2 separate regions of the Homo sapiens genome follow, and region 1 is linked to region 2. The links are contacts of gene promoters, found by promoter capture Hi-C in human tissues and cell types (Jung and others, 2019). All regions are on one chromosome and are shown on one strand. The core of a region is centred on a gene start or on the middle of the fragment in contact, and the rest is flanking DNA. Distances in the headings are between cores, read along the strand shown. Region 1 overlaps SIN3A (SIN3 transcription regulator family member A). Region 2 holds the start of COMMD4 (COMM domain containing 4).

Evidence for each region. The method cuts DNA at HindIII sites, captures the fragments that hold promoters and counts their contacts. A contact is called where the count stands out against the background at its distance.
Region 1: a fragment that was not itself captured here is called in contact with the fragment with the promoter of COMMD4 in region 2 in 4 of the 25 tissues and cell types used here (H1 embryonic stem cells, adrenal gland, bladder and 1 more).

What each region holds. Positions count from the first base shown.
Region 1 is chr15:75,413,827-75,417,905 of GRCh38, forward strand. It overlaps SIN3A (SIN3 transcription regulator family member A), which reads right to left. Exons shown (of 21, transcript NM_001145358.2): 4 at 379-485. Among named protein-coding and RNA genes, the nearest start is that of SIN3A, 36 kb to the right of the region's middle. The HindIII fragment of the contact is 5,110 bases long and covers 1-4,079 here.
Region 2 is chr15:75,334,036-75,338,592 of GRCh38, forward strand. It overlaps COMMD4 (COMM domain containing 4), which reads left to right and starts at 2,028. Exons shown (of 8, transcript NM_017828.5): 1 at 2,028-2,057; 2 at 4,027-4,098; 3 at 4,320-4,385. The coding sequence starts at 2,055. RefSeq lists enhancers at 1,862-1,911, 2,252-2,421. The HindIII fragment of the contact is 27,503 bases long and covers 1-4,557 here.

The DNA.
Region 1 (4,079 bases), core at 1,110-3,609, 80 kb after region 2:
TATACCAGTATACATCATTTCAGCACACATCTACATTGTTCAGATGAGTTACACTCTTACAACAGTGAACCATGCCAGAATATAAGGGTATCTAAACCAATTCAGAAACCAAGTAGCCTAAATCACTACCAGTGCTACTTCCCTGATTGAGACAAAACACTGGAAAAAATTTAGTTAAGGAAAATTTACCAATAGGGATAAAAAAGTCTAGTGGCCATAATTTCCATCAATAAAGGTATGCATAAAATAAAGGCATGATTTTGAAAATTCAGCTGCAAAAAGGAGCATCCTTTATCTTCCAGTAAATAAACTATATCCTCTTCCTTCCAAAATCAATATGCCAGATACAAAGCTTGAGTACAATCACACATCTTTTACCTCTGAGATTTAAATTCCTTCATGATGTCAAGGAAATCATTGTAGACCTGAGGCTGACTACCAAACTGCAGCTTCACCTGGTCAAGATAAGATAGCGCATCCTCCACCTGAGGCAGGGATAAATATCAAGGTTATAAAAAGAAAGTAAGCTCATAATTACAAAAAAAAAACAAAAACAAATTATTTATGCCTAAGTATGCTTAATGCAGTAAATGAAGTAAAAATATATTAAATATATACTTAAAAGTTAGTATGGATACCAATAATAAACTCAAGCTTAAAATAATAATCAACTCATAAAATCTGTAGCCTTGCCTTGGAAAATTTTGAACAGAATGATCAGTGAAGAATAATTACAATGATATATCATTTATTAATTCATTTCACAAGTATCTACTAAACTGCAACATACCAGGCCCAATGTGAGTACCAAGGATTCAATGACAAATAATTTGTAGCCCCTCGTCTATAGACATTTGTTTGTATGTAGTCAGGAATCATAACACAGTGGGTAACCCGGTAATCACTCCATGCCTGGAGATGACATGGGAAGGACACGTCTTCTCCACCAAAAAAAGTGAGGCTTCCCCAGGAGGTAATGTATAAACTGAGACCTAAAGATGACTATAAGCTAGCAAAAGTGAAGACCAGTGAAGAAAATCAAAAGCGGCAGCACGGGTAAAATCCTAGACAGGATACGATATGGGATATTTAGAAATCTGAAAACAGTTTAGTTTGGCTGGAGGATCTGTAGTGAAGAGGAAGGAAAAGTAACAAAATGAGACAGAAAAAAAAGCAGGATCTAGATTCTGAAAGGATTTGTAAATCTTGTGAAAAAGCAATTTAGATTTTTATCATCTGCATTTTCGTGTACGCAATTTGACTGCAGTGTTGAGAAAAAATTGGCACAAGAGCAGAAAAGATTGAAAGGAGGTAGGAAGACCAGGTATGCTACAGGAATAACTGGACAACTCATGTGAAAACAGTGGCTTGAATTATAGTACTGGCCCAGAACAACAGAGAGAACTGCATAGATAAAAAAGCTTTTTGGGTAGTAGAAGTGACAGGATTGGGGAACTGACTGAATAGAGGAGCTAAGGGAGAGCCAGCATTCAAAAGTGATCCGCCACGGAGCACTGAGGAAGAACAGTCAAGAGTGACTCTCGGACCGATCAAAGCCCACATGCCACTGCATCCCGCACTCAGCGCTTACATCCTTCCACATCACCACCACACCCAAGAGAAAGCCTGAAGGGGATGCTAAAGGAGATAGAGCCAAGGTGAAGAACAACCCAGAGAAGATCCGCAAGGTTGTATGCTAAACCTGCTCCTCCAAAGCCAGAGCCCAACCCTAAAAAGGATGCAGGCTGGGCGCAGTGGCTGACACCTGCAATCCCAGCACTTTCAGAGGCAGAGGTGGGAGGATCATCTGAGGTCAGGAGTTCGAGACCAGCCTGACCAACACGGAGAAACCCATCTCTACTAAAAATACAAAAATTAGCCAGGCATGGTGGCGCATGTCTGTAATGCCAGCTACTCGGGAGGCTGAGGCAGGGGAATCACTTGAACCCAGGAGGCGGAGGTTGCGGTGAGTCGAGATCATGCCATTGCACACCAGCCTGGGCAACAAGAGTGAAACTCGGTCTCAGGAAAAAAAAAAAAAAAAAAAAAGTCCCCTGCAAAGGAGAGAGAGGAGGTACCCAAAGGGAAAAAGGAAAATGCTGACACTGGCAGGGAGGGGAATAACCTTGCAGGAAATGGAGATGCCAAAACAGACCAGGCACAGAAAGCTGAAGGTGCTAGAGATGCCAAGTGAAACATGTGCATTTTTGGTAACTGTGTACTTCTGGTGACTGTAAAGTTTGAACTATAAAGTTATGAAGTTTGTAAATTTTGAAATACCATTGTTTAAATCAAGCTTTATAAAAATGCAGAATTTTGTTTTGCTTTTTCTAAAGCAGTGTTGTTATCGCACACAGAACACTTCATTGTTGTTTTGGTGGGAAGGATCACAGGTCACTAATAGAATGTCTTTGAAGCTGGACTGACGTGGGGAAAACACCTTTCCCTTCTAGTTTTGAGAGACTTCCTCTTGGCTTATAGAAGAAATTCCCTGACTTTATTTACTTATTTATTTAGAGACAGAGTTTTGCTATTGTTGCCCAGGCTGGAGTGCAGTGGTGCGATCTTGGCTCACTGTAACCTCTGCCTCCGGGGTTCAAGCGATTCTCTTGCCTCAGCCTCCTGAGTAGCTGGGGTTACAGGCACCCGCCAGCATGCCTGGCTAATTTTTGTATTTTTAGTACAGACAGGATTTCACCACATTGGCCAGGCTGGTCTCAAACTCCTGACCACAAGTGATCTGCCAGCCTCAGCCTCCCAAAGTCCTGGGATTACAGGCGTGAGCCACCACACCCAGCCTAGATTCCCTGACTTTTAACACACATGGCCACCTTGGCACAAACACCTTGTGGGATGGAAAAACAAATTCATTTTTACATCCTGTTCTCCCTCCCCACCTTCACAGACCTAACTCCCTTTTACCCAGACACCTGTTGGGACCTAACCCCCAATAACTGGTTACCAATATGTCAGGCAGTCAAACTTTCCAGTGATGCCACTGAAATGGCAGCCCTCAAAAGAGCAGTGGTTGCTTTTTCTAGACTGTGGATCTTCAGATAAGTCCTGCCATTTTCATTTCACTTCCTGAAAGTCAGGGTTGGCTTGTGAAAAGTTGTTAAACAACATGCTAAATGTGAAGTGTCAACCTTCACTCTAAACTTTCCCTGTTCAGAGCATCAAATGAGACTTCACTGGGTTTTATAGTGGCTTTTTTTTTTTTGGTAGCTCATTGTTAAGGATTGTCCATGTTCTGCCTGAAATACCATGACTGTTTTTGGAAAGTATCTTTAAAGCTGGATACAGTTTGGCTGGGGGAGAAAAAAAACTGACCTATCACAAAGAAGAACAGGTTGGAAAGGCTAAGCTATGAGTCTGATTTAGGACAGAGACACCCAAAAGAAATCCCCACTAGGTGTTTCCTATTTACTCTGAGATACGTTAAGTTTTATTTTGGTAGTTTAACTGAAGCCTAAATATTTAAAATTATACAAAATATCAGGTTTAAGAAATTTCAGAAATAAACATTTGATGTGATTTAAGCCAGTCTTTTTCTTTTTTTTTTTTTTGAGATGGGAGTCTCATTTTGTCTCCCAGGCTAGAGTGCAATGGCGCAATCTCGGGTCACTGCAACTTCTGCCTCCTGGGTTCAAGTGATATCTCCTGCCTCAGCCTCCTGAGTAGCTGGGATTCCAGGCGCATGTCACCACATCCAACTAATTTTTTTGTATTTTTAGTAGAGATGGGATTTCACCATGTTGGCCAGGCTGGTCTTGAACTCCTGACCTCAACTGATCCGCCTGCCTCAGCCTCCCAATGTGCTGGGATTACAGATGTGAGCCACCACACCTGGCCAGGCATAGATAGTCTTTTGATTTGTTGCAAAATGGAACATTTACATTCAAGTCAATCATTAACTGGTGCTGTGGTCTGAAATGTGTCCCACAAAATTCTTACATCGAAACTTAATCACCGATATGATGATATTAAGAAGTGAGGCCTTCAGAAAGTGATTGTGGAGCCCTCATGAATGGGATTAGGGACCTTATAAAAGGGCTGGAGTGAACCAGTGTTAGTCCCTT
Region 2 (4,557 bases), core at 778-3,277:
GGCACCCACTACCACACCCTGCTAATTTTTTTTGTTTTTTTTCAGTAGAGACAGGTTTTGCCATGTTAGCCAGGCCACCGCTCTCGAACTCCTGACCTCAGGTGATCTGCCTGCCTCGGCCTCCCAAAGTGCTAGGATTACAGGCATGAGCCACCGTGCCCAGCCTTTATTTATTTATTTATTTATTTATTTATTTATTTTTATTTTATTTTATTTTTCTGAGATGGTCTCCTTCTGTTGCTCAGGATGGATGGAGTACAGTGGTGCCATCATGGTTCACTGCAGCCTCCACCTCCCAGGCTCAAGAGATCCTCTGACCTCAGCCTCTTAGGTAGCTGGGACAACACGTGTGCACCAGGACAAGCGGGTAATTTTTTGTAGAGACTGGGGTCTCCCTATGTTGCACAAGCTGGTCTAGAACTCCTGGGCTCAAGCGATCCACCGGCCTTGGCCTACCAAAGTGCTATGATTAAAGGTCTTAACATTCTTAAAAAATTTTTTTGACATGGTTTAGGATAGTCTAGTAACTTAACGTACTGTTGTTTTCAACAGGCTAGTGGTTATGATTTGTAAAAGAACTCTTCAGAAATGAGCTCAATTTTACCATGAATTGGGGACACTTTACATTTCTATTTTATAGTGCAGTTTAATTGTCATGGGCTCTGTCTTTTAAAAACCTGAAAGCCTGCAACAATAAAACCAGCTGCACCTGTTGCATGGGATAGGCATGGAATTGAGGAGAGAGCTCAAACTACAGTCAGCCCTCTGTATCCTGAGGTTCTGGATCCTTGGATTTAACCAACTGTGCATCGAAAATATTTGGAAAAAGTAAAACAATAAAAAAACACAGGTCGGGTGCAGTGGCGGGCGCCTGTAGTCCCAGCTACTCGGGAGGCTGAGGCAGGAGAATGGCGTGAACCCGGGTGGCAGAGCTGGCAGCGAGTGGAGATCGCGCCACTGCACTCCAGCCTGGGCAACAGAGCAAGACTCCGTCTCAAAAAAAAAAATTAAAAAACTTTATAACAGCTATTTACAAAGCATTTACGTTGTATTAGGTATTATAGTAATCTAGAGATGATTTAAAGTATACGGAAGGATGTGCACAGGTTATTTGCAAATACTATGCCATATTATATCAGGGACTTGAGTATCTGTGAATTTTGGTATCTCTGGGGTCCTGGAACCAACATCCTGAGGTTACCAAAGGACGACTGTATTCAATTTTGTCTCTGGTTATTAGTCTATTCTCAAATGTATTTTTCTTGTTGTTTTGTCTTTTTGTTTTTGCCTCTTCAAGTCAATGTCGGAAACTTAGTTGTTCTAGACTACCCATTAGCTCAGAGCTACCAGTAATCAGACTACCACTGCAACCTAAGCAACCGATTTTTCTTCCCCATCAGACTGGCAAAAATTAAGATAAGCATCTATTGATGTTGAAGCTGTAGGGAGTTTTCCTGAGCAAGTAATTATGACAGCCCTTTTTGCTAGGCACCTAGATGATTCATCAAAATGAAATAAAATACCCATGCACTTGAAGAAGTTATCTGGTTTATTTCCTTACCTGGGTGCTGGTTATGTGAGGTGTACAGTTGATGAAAACTTATTAAGCTTTATAATAGGTACAATTTTCTGTATGTGTAGTAGACGTCAATAGTTTTTAAAATGTCTTTTGCCACAGCCCGCAGCTGTGAATAATGCTATTCGCTTAACAGTGGAAAACGTGTCAATGACCTGAAACACCCTGGCTCCCGGGATCCTACCCCCTTAAGTTAAACAAATGAAATAACTTCCACTGTCTTTCCTAATGTCTTAATTCGGTCCTCAGTTAAACTGGCGGTTGGCGCCAGTTTTTTCCAGGGAAGGATTCTGGGAGACGGAGGAGGAGACGCCAGCATTTCGCCCCCTGCACCTCCAGCGGGCTGCGGTCCGCTCCCGGCCTCACTCGAGCAGGCCCCGCCCTCCCAGAGGCAGTTAGTCCAAGTCACGTGATCGTCGACTCAGCTGACCCTGCGGGACCGGAAAAAGAAATTCCCGGGCCCTGGCTTCTTGGCGCGATGGTGAGGCACTAGGGGCGAAGCGAGGCTTGGGCTGCTGGAGCGGGAATGAGGGGGCGCCAAGTGGCTCCGGAAACTGGGGGAGGTTGTACTGGCCTCTCCGCAAACACAGTGTGTGCGGGCGTGAGGGCTGTGAGTCTGGTAGGGAAAAGTCCACCACTCTCCCGCTCCCGAGACGGGGGCGGGGGTACGGGGCGGGTAAGACAGAGCAGGCCGGCCGGCTTAGAGTCCCGGTGCTTCCCTGGCGGAAGGAAGGGCCCCTGCCTCCCGGGGCAGGAACTAGGGCTTGTCTGGAGCTGGGAGTCCTTTCAGGTCTTCCCCATCCCCAAGAGGACCTCCCAAGGATACCCCCTTCCCCAGCCCTGCCGTGGGGCTTGTACAAGAAGGTGCTTAGAATCAGGCTCACTCTTCCACACTGTTAGGAAGCCCCTCCGCTCTTTCCAGAGCCAGAAAGTAGTAGTTTTGGGGTTGAGACTTATCCATCCATCCATCCAATCCATCCATCCGTACGTTCTAAGCGCCTGGTCTATACCATGAAGTGTGCTAGGCACTGGGAGGACTTGAGCTGCCAAGGGAAGGGGAAATCGGAGGCTTGAATTGGAGTCATAGCTAAGGCTCCAGGGGCAGAGACCTAACTGCGCCTTGTGTGTAGTGCTAAGGGGGCTTCCTAAGGATGCCATCAAACTTAAAGGCGGATGGATGGCAGGAGCTGGCTGGCTGAAGTACAGTTTGTGTACCAGGGGTAGGGAGGCAAGGGTGGGAGACGTGTGTCTTCAGACAGGGAACAGCATGTGCAGAGACTTCAGGTTAGAGAGAGTATGGCTCCCCAGGAATGGATGCATTTCCCATAGCTGGGAGAGTATCATCTGCAGGTTAGGGAAAGATGAGGCTGGACAAGTAGAGAACAAATCTTCCTGGCTCTTGGATCACCACAATCAAGATAATGAACGTATCCACTGGCCTCCATAATTTCCTTGTGTGAGGGGCTATTTTAAGAAGTATAATCAAGAAAGGCTGTTCTGGCTGGGTGCGGTGGCTCATGCCTGTAATCCTAGCACTTTGGGAGAGTGAAGAGGGTGGATCACCTGAGGTCAGGAGTTCGAGACCAGCATGGCCATGGCACTCCAGCCTGGGCAACAGAGGGAGACTCTGTCTTATTTTTTTATTTTTTAAAAAAAGAAGGGCTGGTCTGATGTGTCACTTAAAGGATAGCAAGCCACTGGCCAGGCGCCGTGGCTCACGCCTGTAATCCCAGCACTTTGGGAGGCTGAGGGGGACGGATCACTTGAGGTCAGGAGTTCAAGACCAGCCTGGCTAACATAGTGAAACTCTGTCTCTACTAAAAATACAAAATTAGCCGAGTGTGGTGGCACATGCCTGTAATCCCAGCTACTTGGGAGGCTGAGGCAGGAGAATCACTTGAACCTGGGAAGCGGAGGTTGCAGTGAGCCGAGGTCGCGCCATTGCACTCCAGCCTGGGGAACAAGAGTGAAACTGTCTCAAAAAAAAAAAAAAAAGGATAGCAAGCCACACAGAGAGTGCAGCAGGCATGGAGGCGGGAGCAAGGCTGGTGTGCCCCAGCAGCAGCAGGGAAGCTGGAGTGGCTGGAGTTGTGTGGGTATGGGGAAGAGGGGAGAGAGTTCACTCGTCTCTGTGAGGCCCAGGACTTTGTTTTATCCCATGCTGTACCCCCAGCACTTAGAGTGGGAGCTAGCACAGAGAAGGTGCTTAATTGATGTTTGCTGAGCAGATGAATGCCTGGAGTAGACCTCAGAGCAGGGTTTGGTGGCAGGGTGGGTCAGGGAGAGAGTTTACTCAACAGCCTGGTGATAGGGGAGAACAAGAGGCCAGAGGGTATCCATCTATGTCGGGGACCAGGGGTCCCTGGTGGGCAGCAGTGTGGGAGACACACGGATCCTGGCCACACCTCAGGCCTCCCTCCAGCCTGATTACCTGCCTCCCTCCCTTGCAGAGGTTCCGGTTCTGTGGTGATCTGGACTGTCCCGACTGGGTCCTGGCAGAAATCAGCACGCTGGCCAAGATGGTTGAGTGCACAGGGTCTAGTCTGGGTGGAGGAGGGGTGTTGGGGGTGGGGATTGTGGGTGTAGAGGATGGTGAGGTTTCTCTGGGGCTAGGGCCTCAGTGCTCTCAGCCTGTGCTACCATGCTTTGTGACCTTGATCAGTGGCTGGCCTGCTCTGAGCCAGTCCCCAGGAAGGAGGGGTGAGGTTTGCCAGCCTGGCTGATGTAAGGACTTCCCTTCCAGTCCTCTGTGAAGTTGCGGCTGCTCTGCAGCCAGGTACTAAAGGAGCTGCTGGGACAGGGGATTGATGTGAGTACAAGATCCAGCACCCCATTGTCCCATGACCTTATGACCACCACTGCCCTGAAACTCTGCACTAGGCCCAGGGAGACGGGTGAGCCAGCCTCTCAACCTCTCTGGGCACCTCCCTTCCTTCTTTCCAGCCTGTCTGTTCCTTATCGCAGGATCCAGGCTGGGGGTG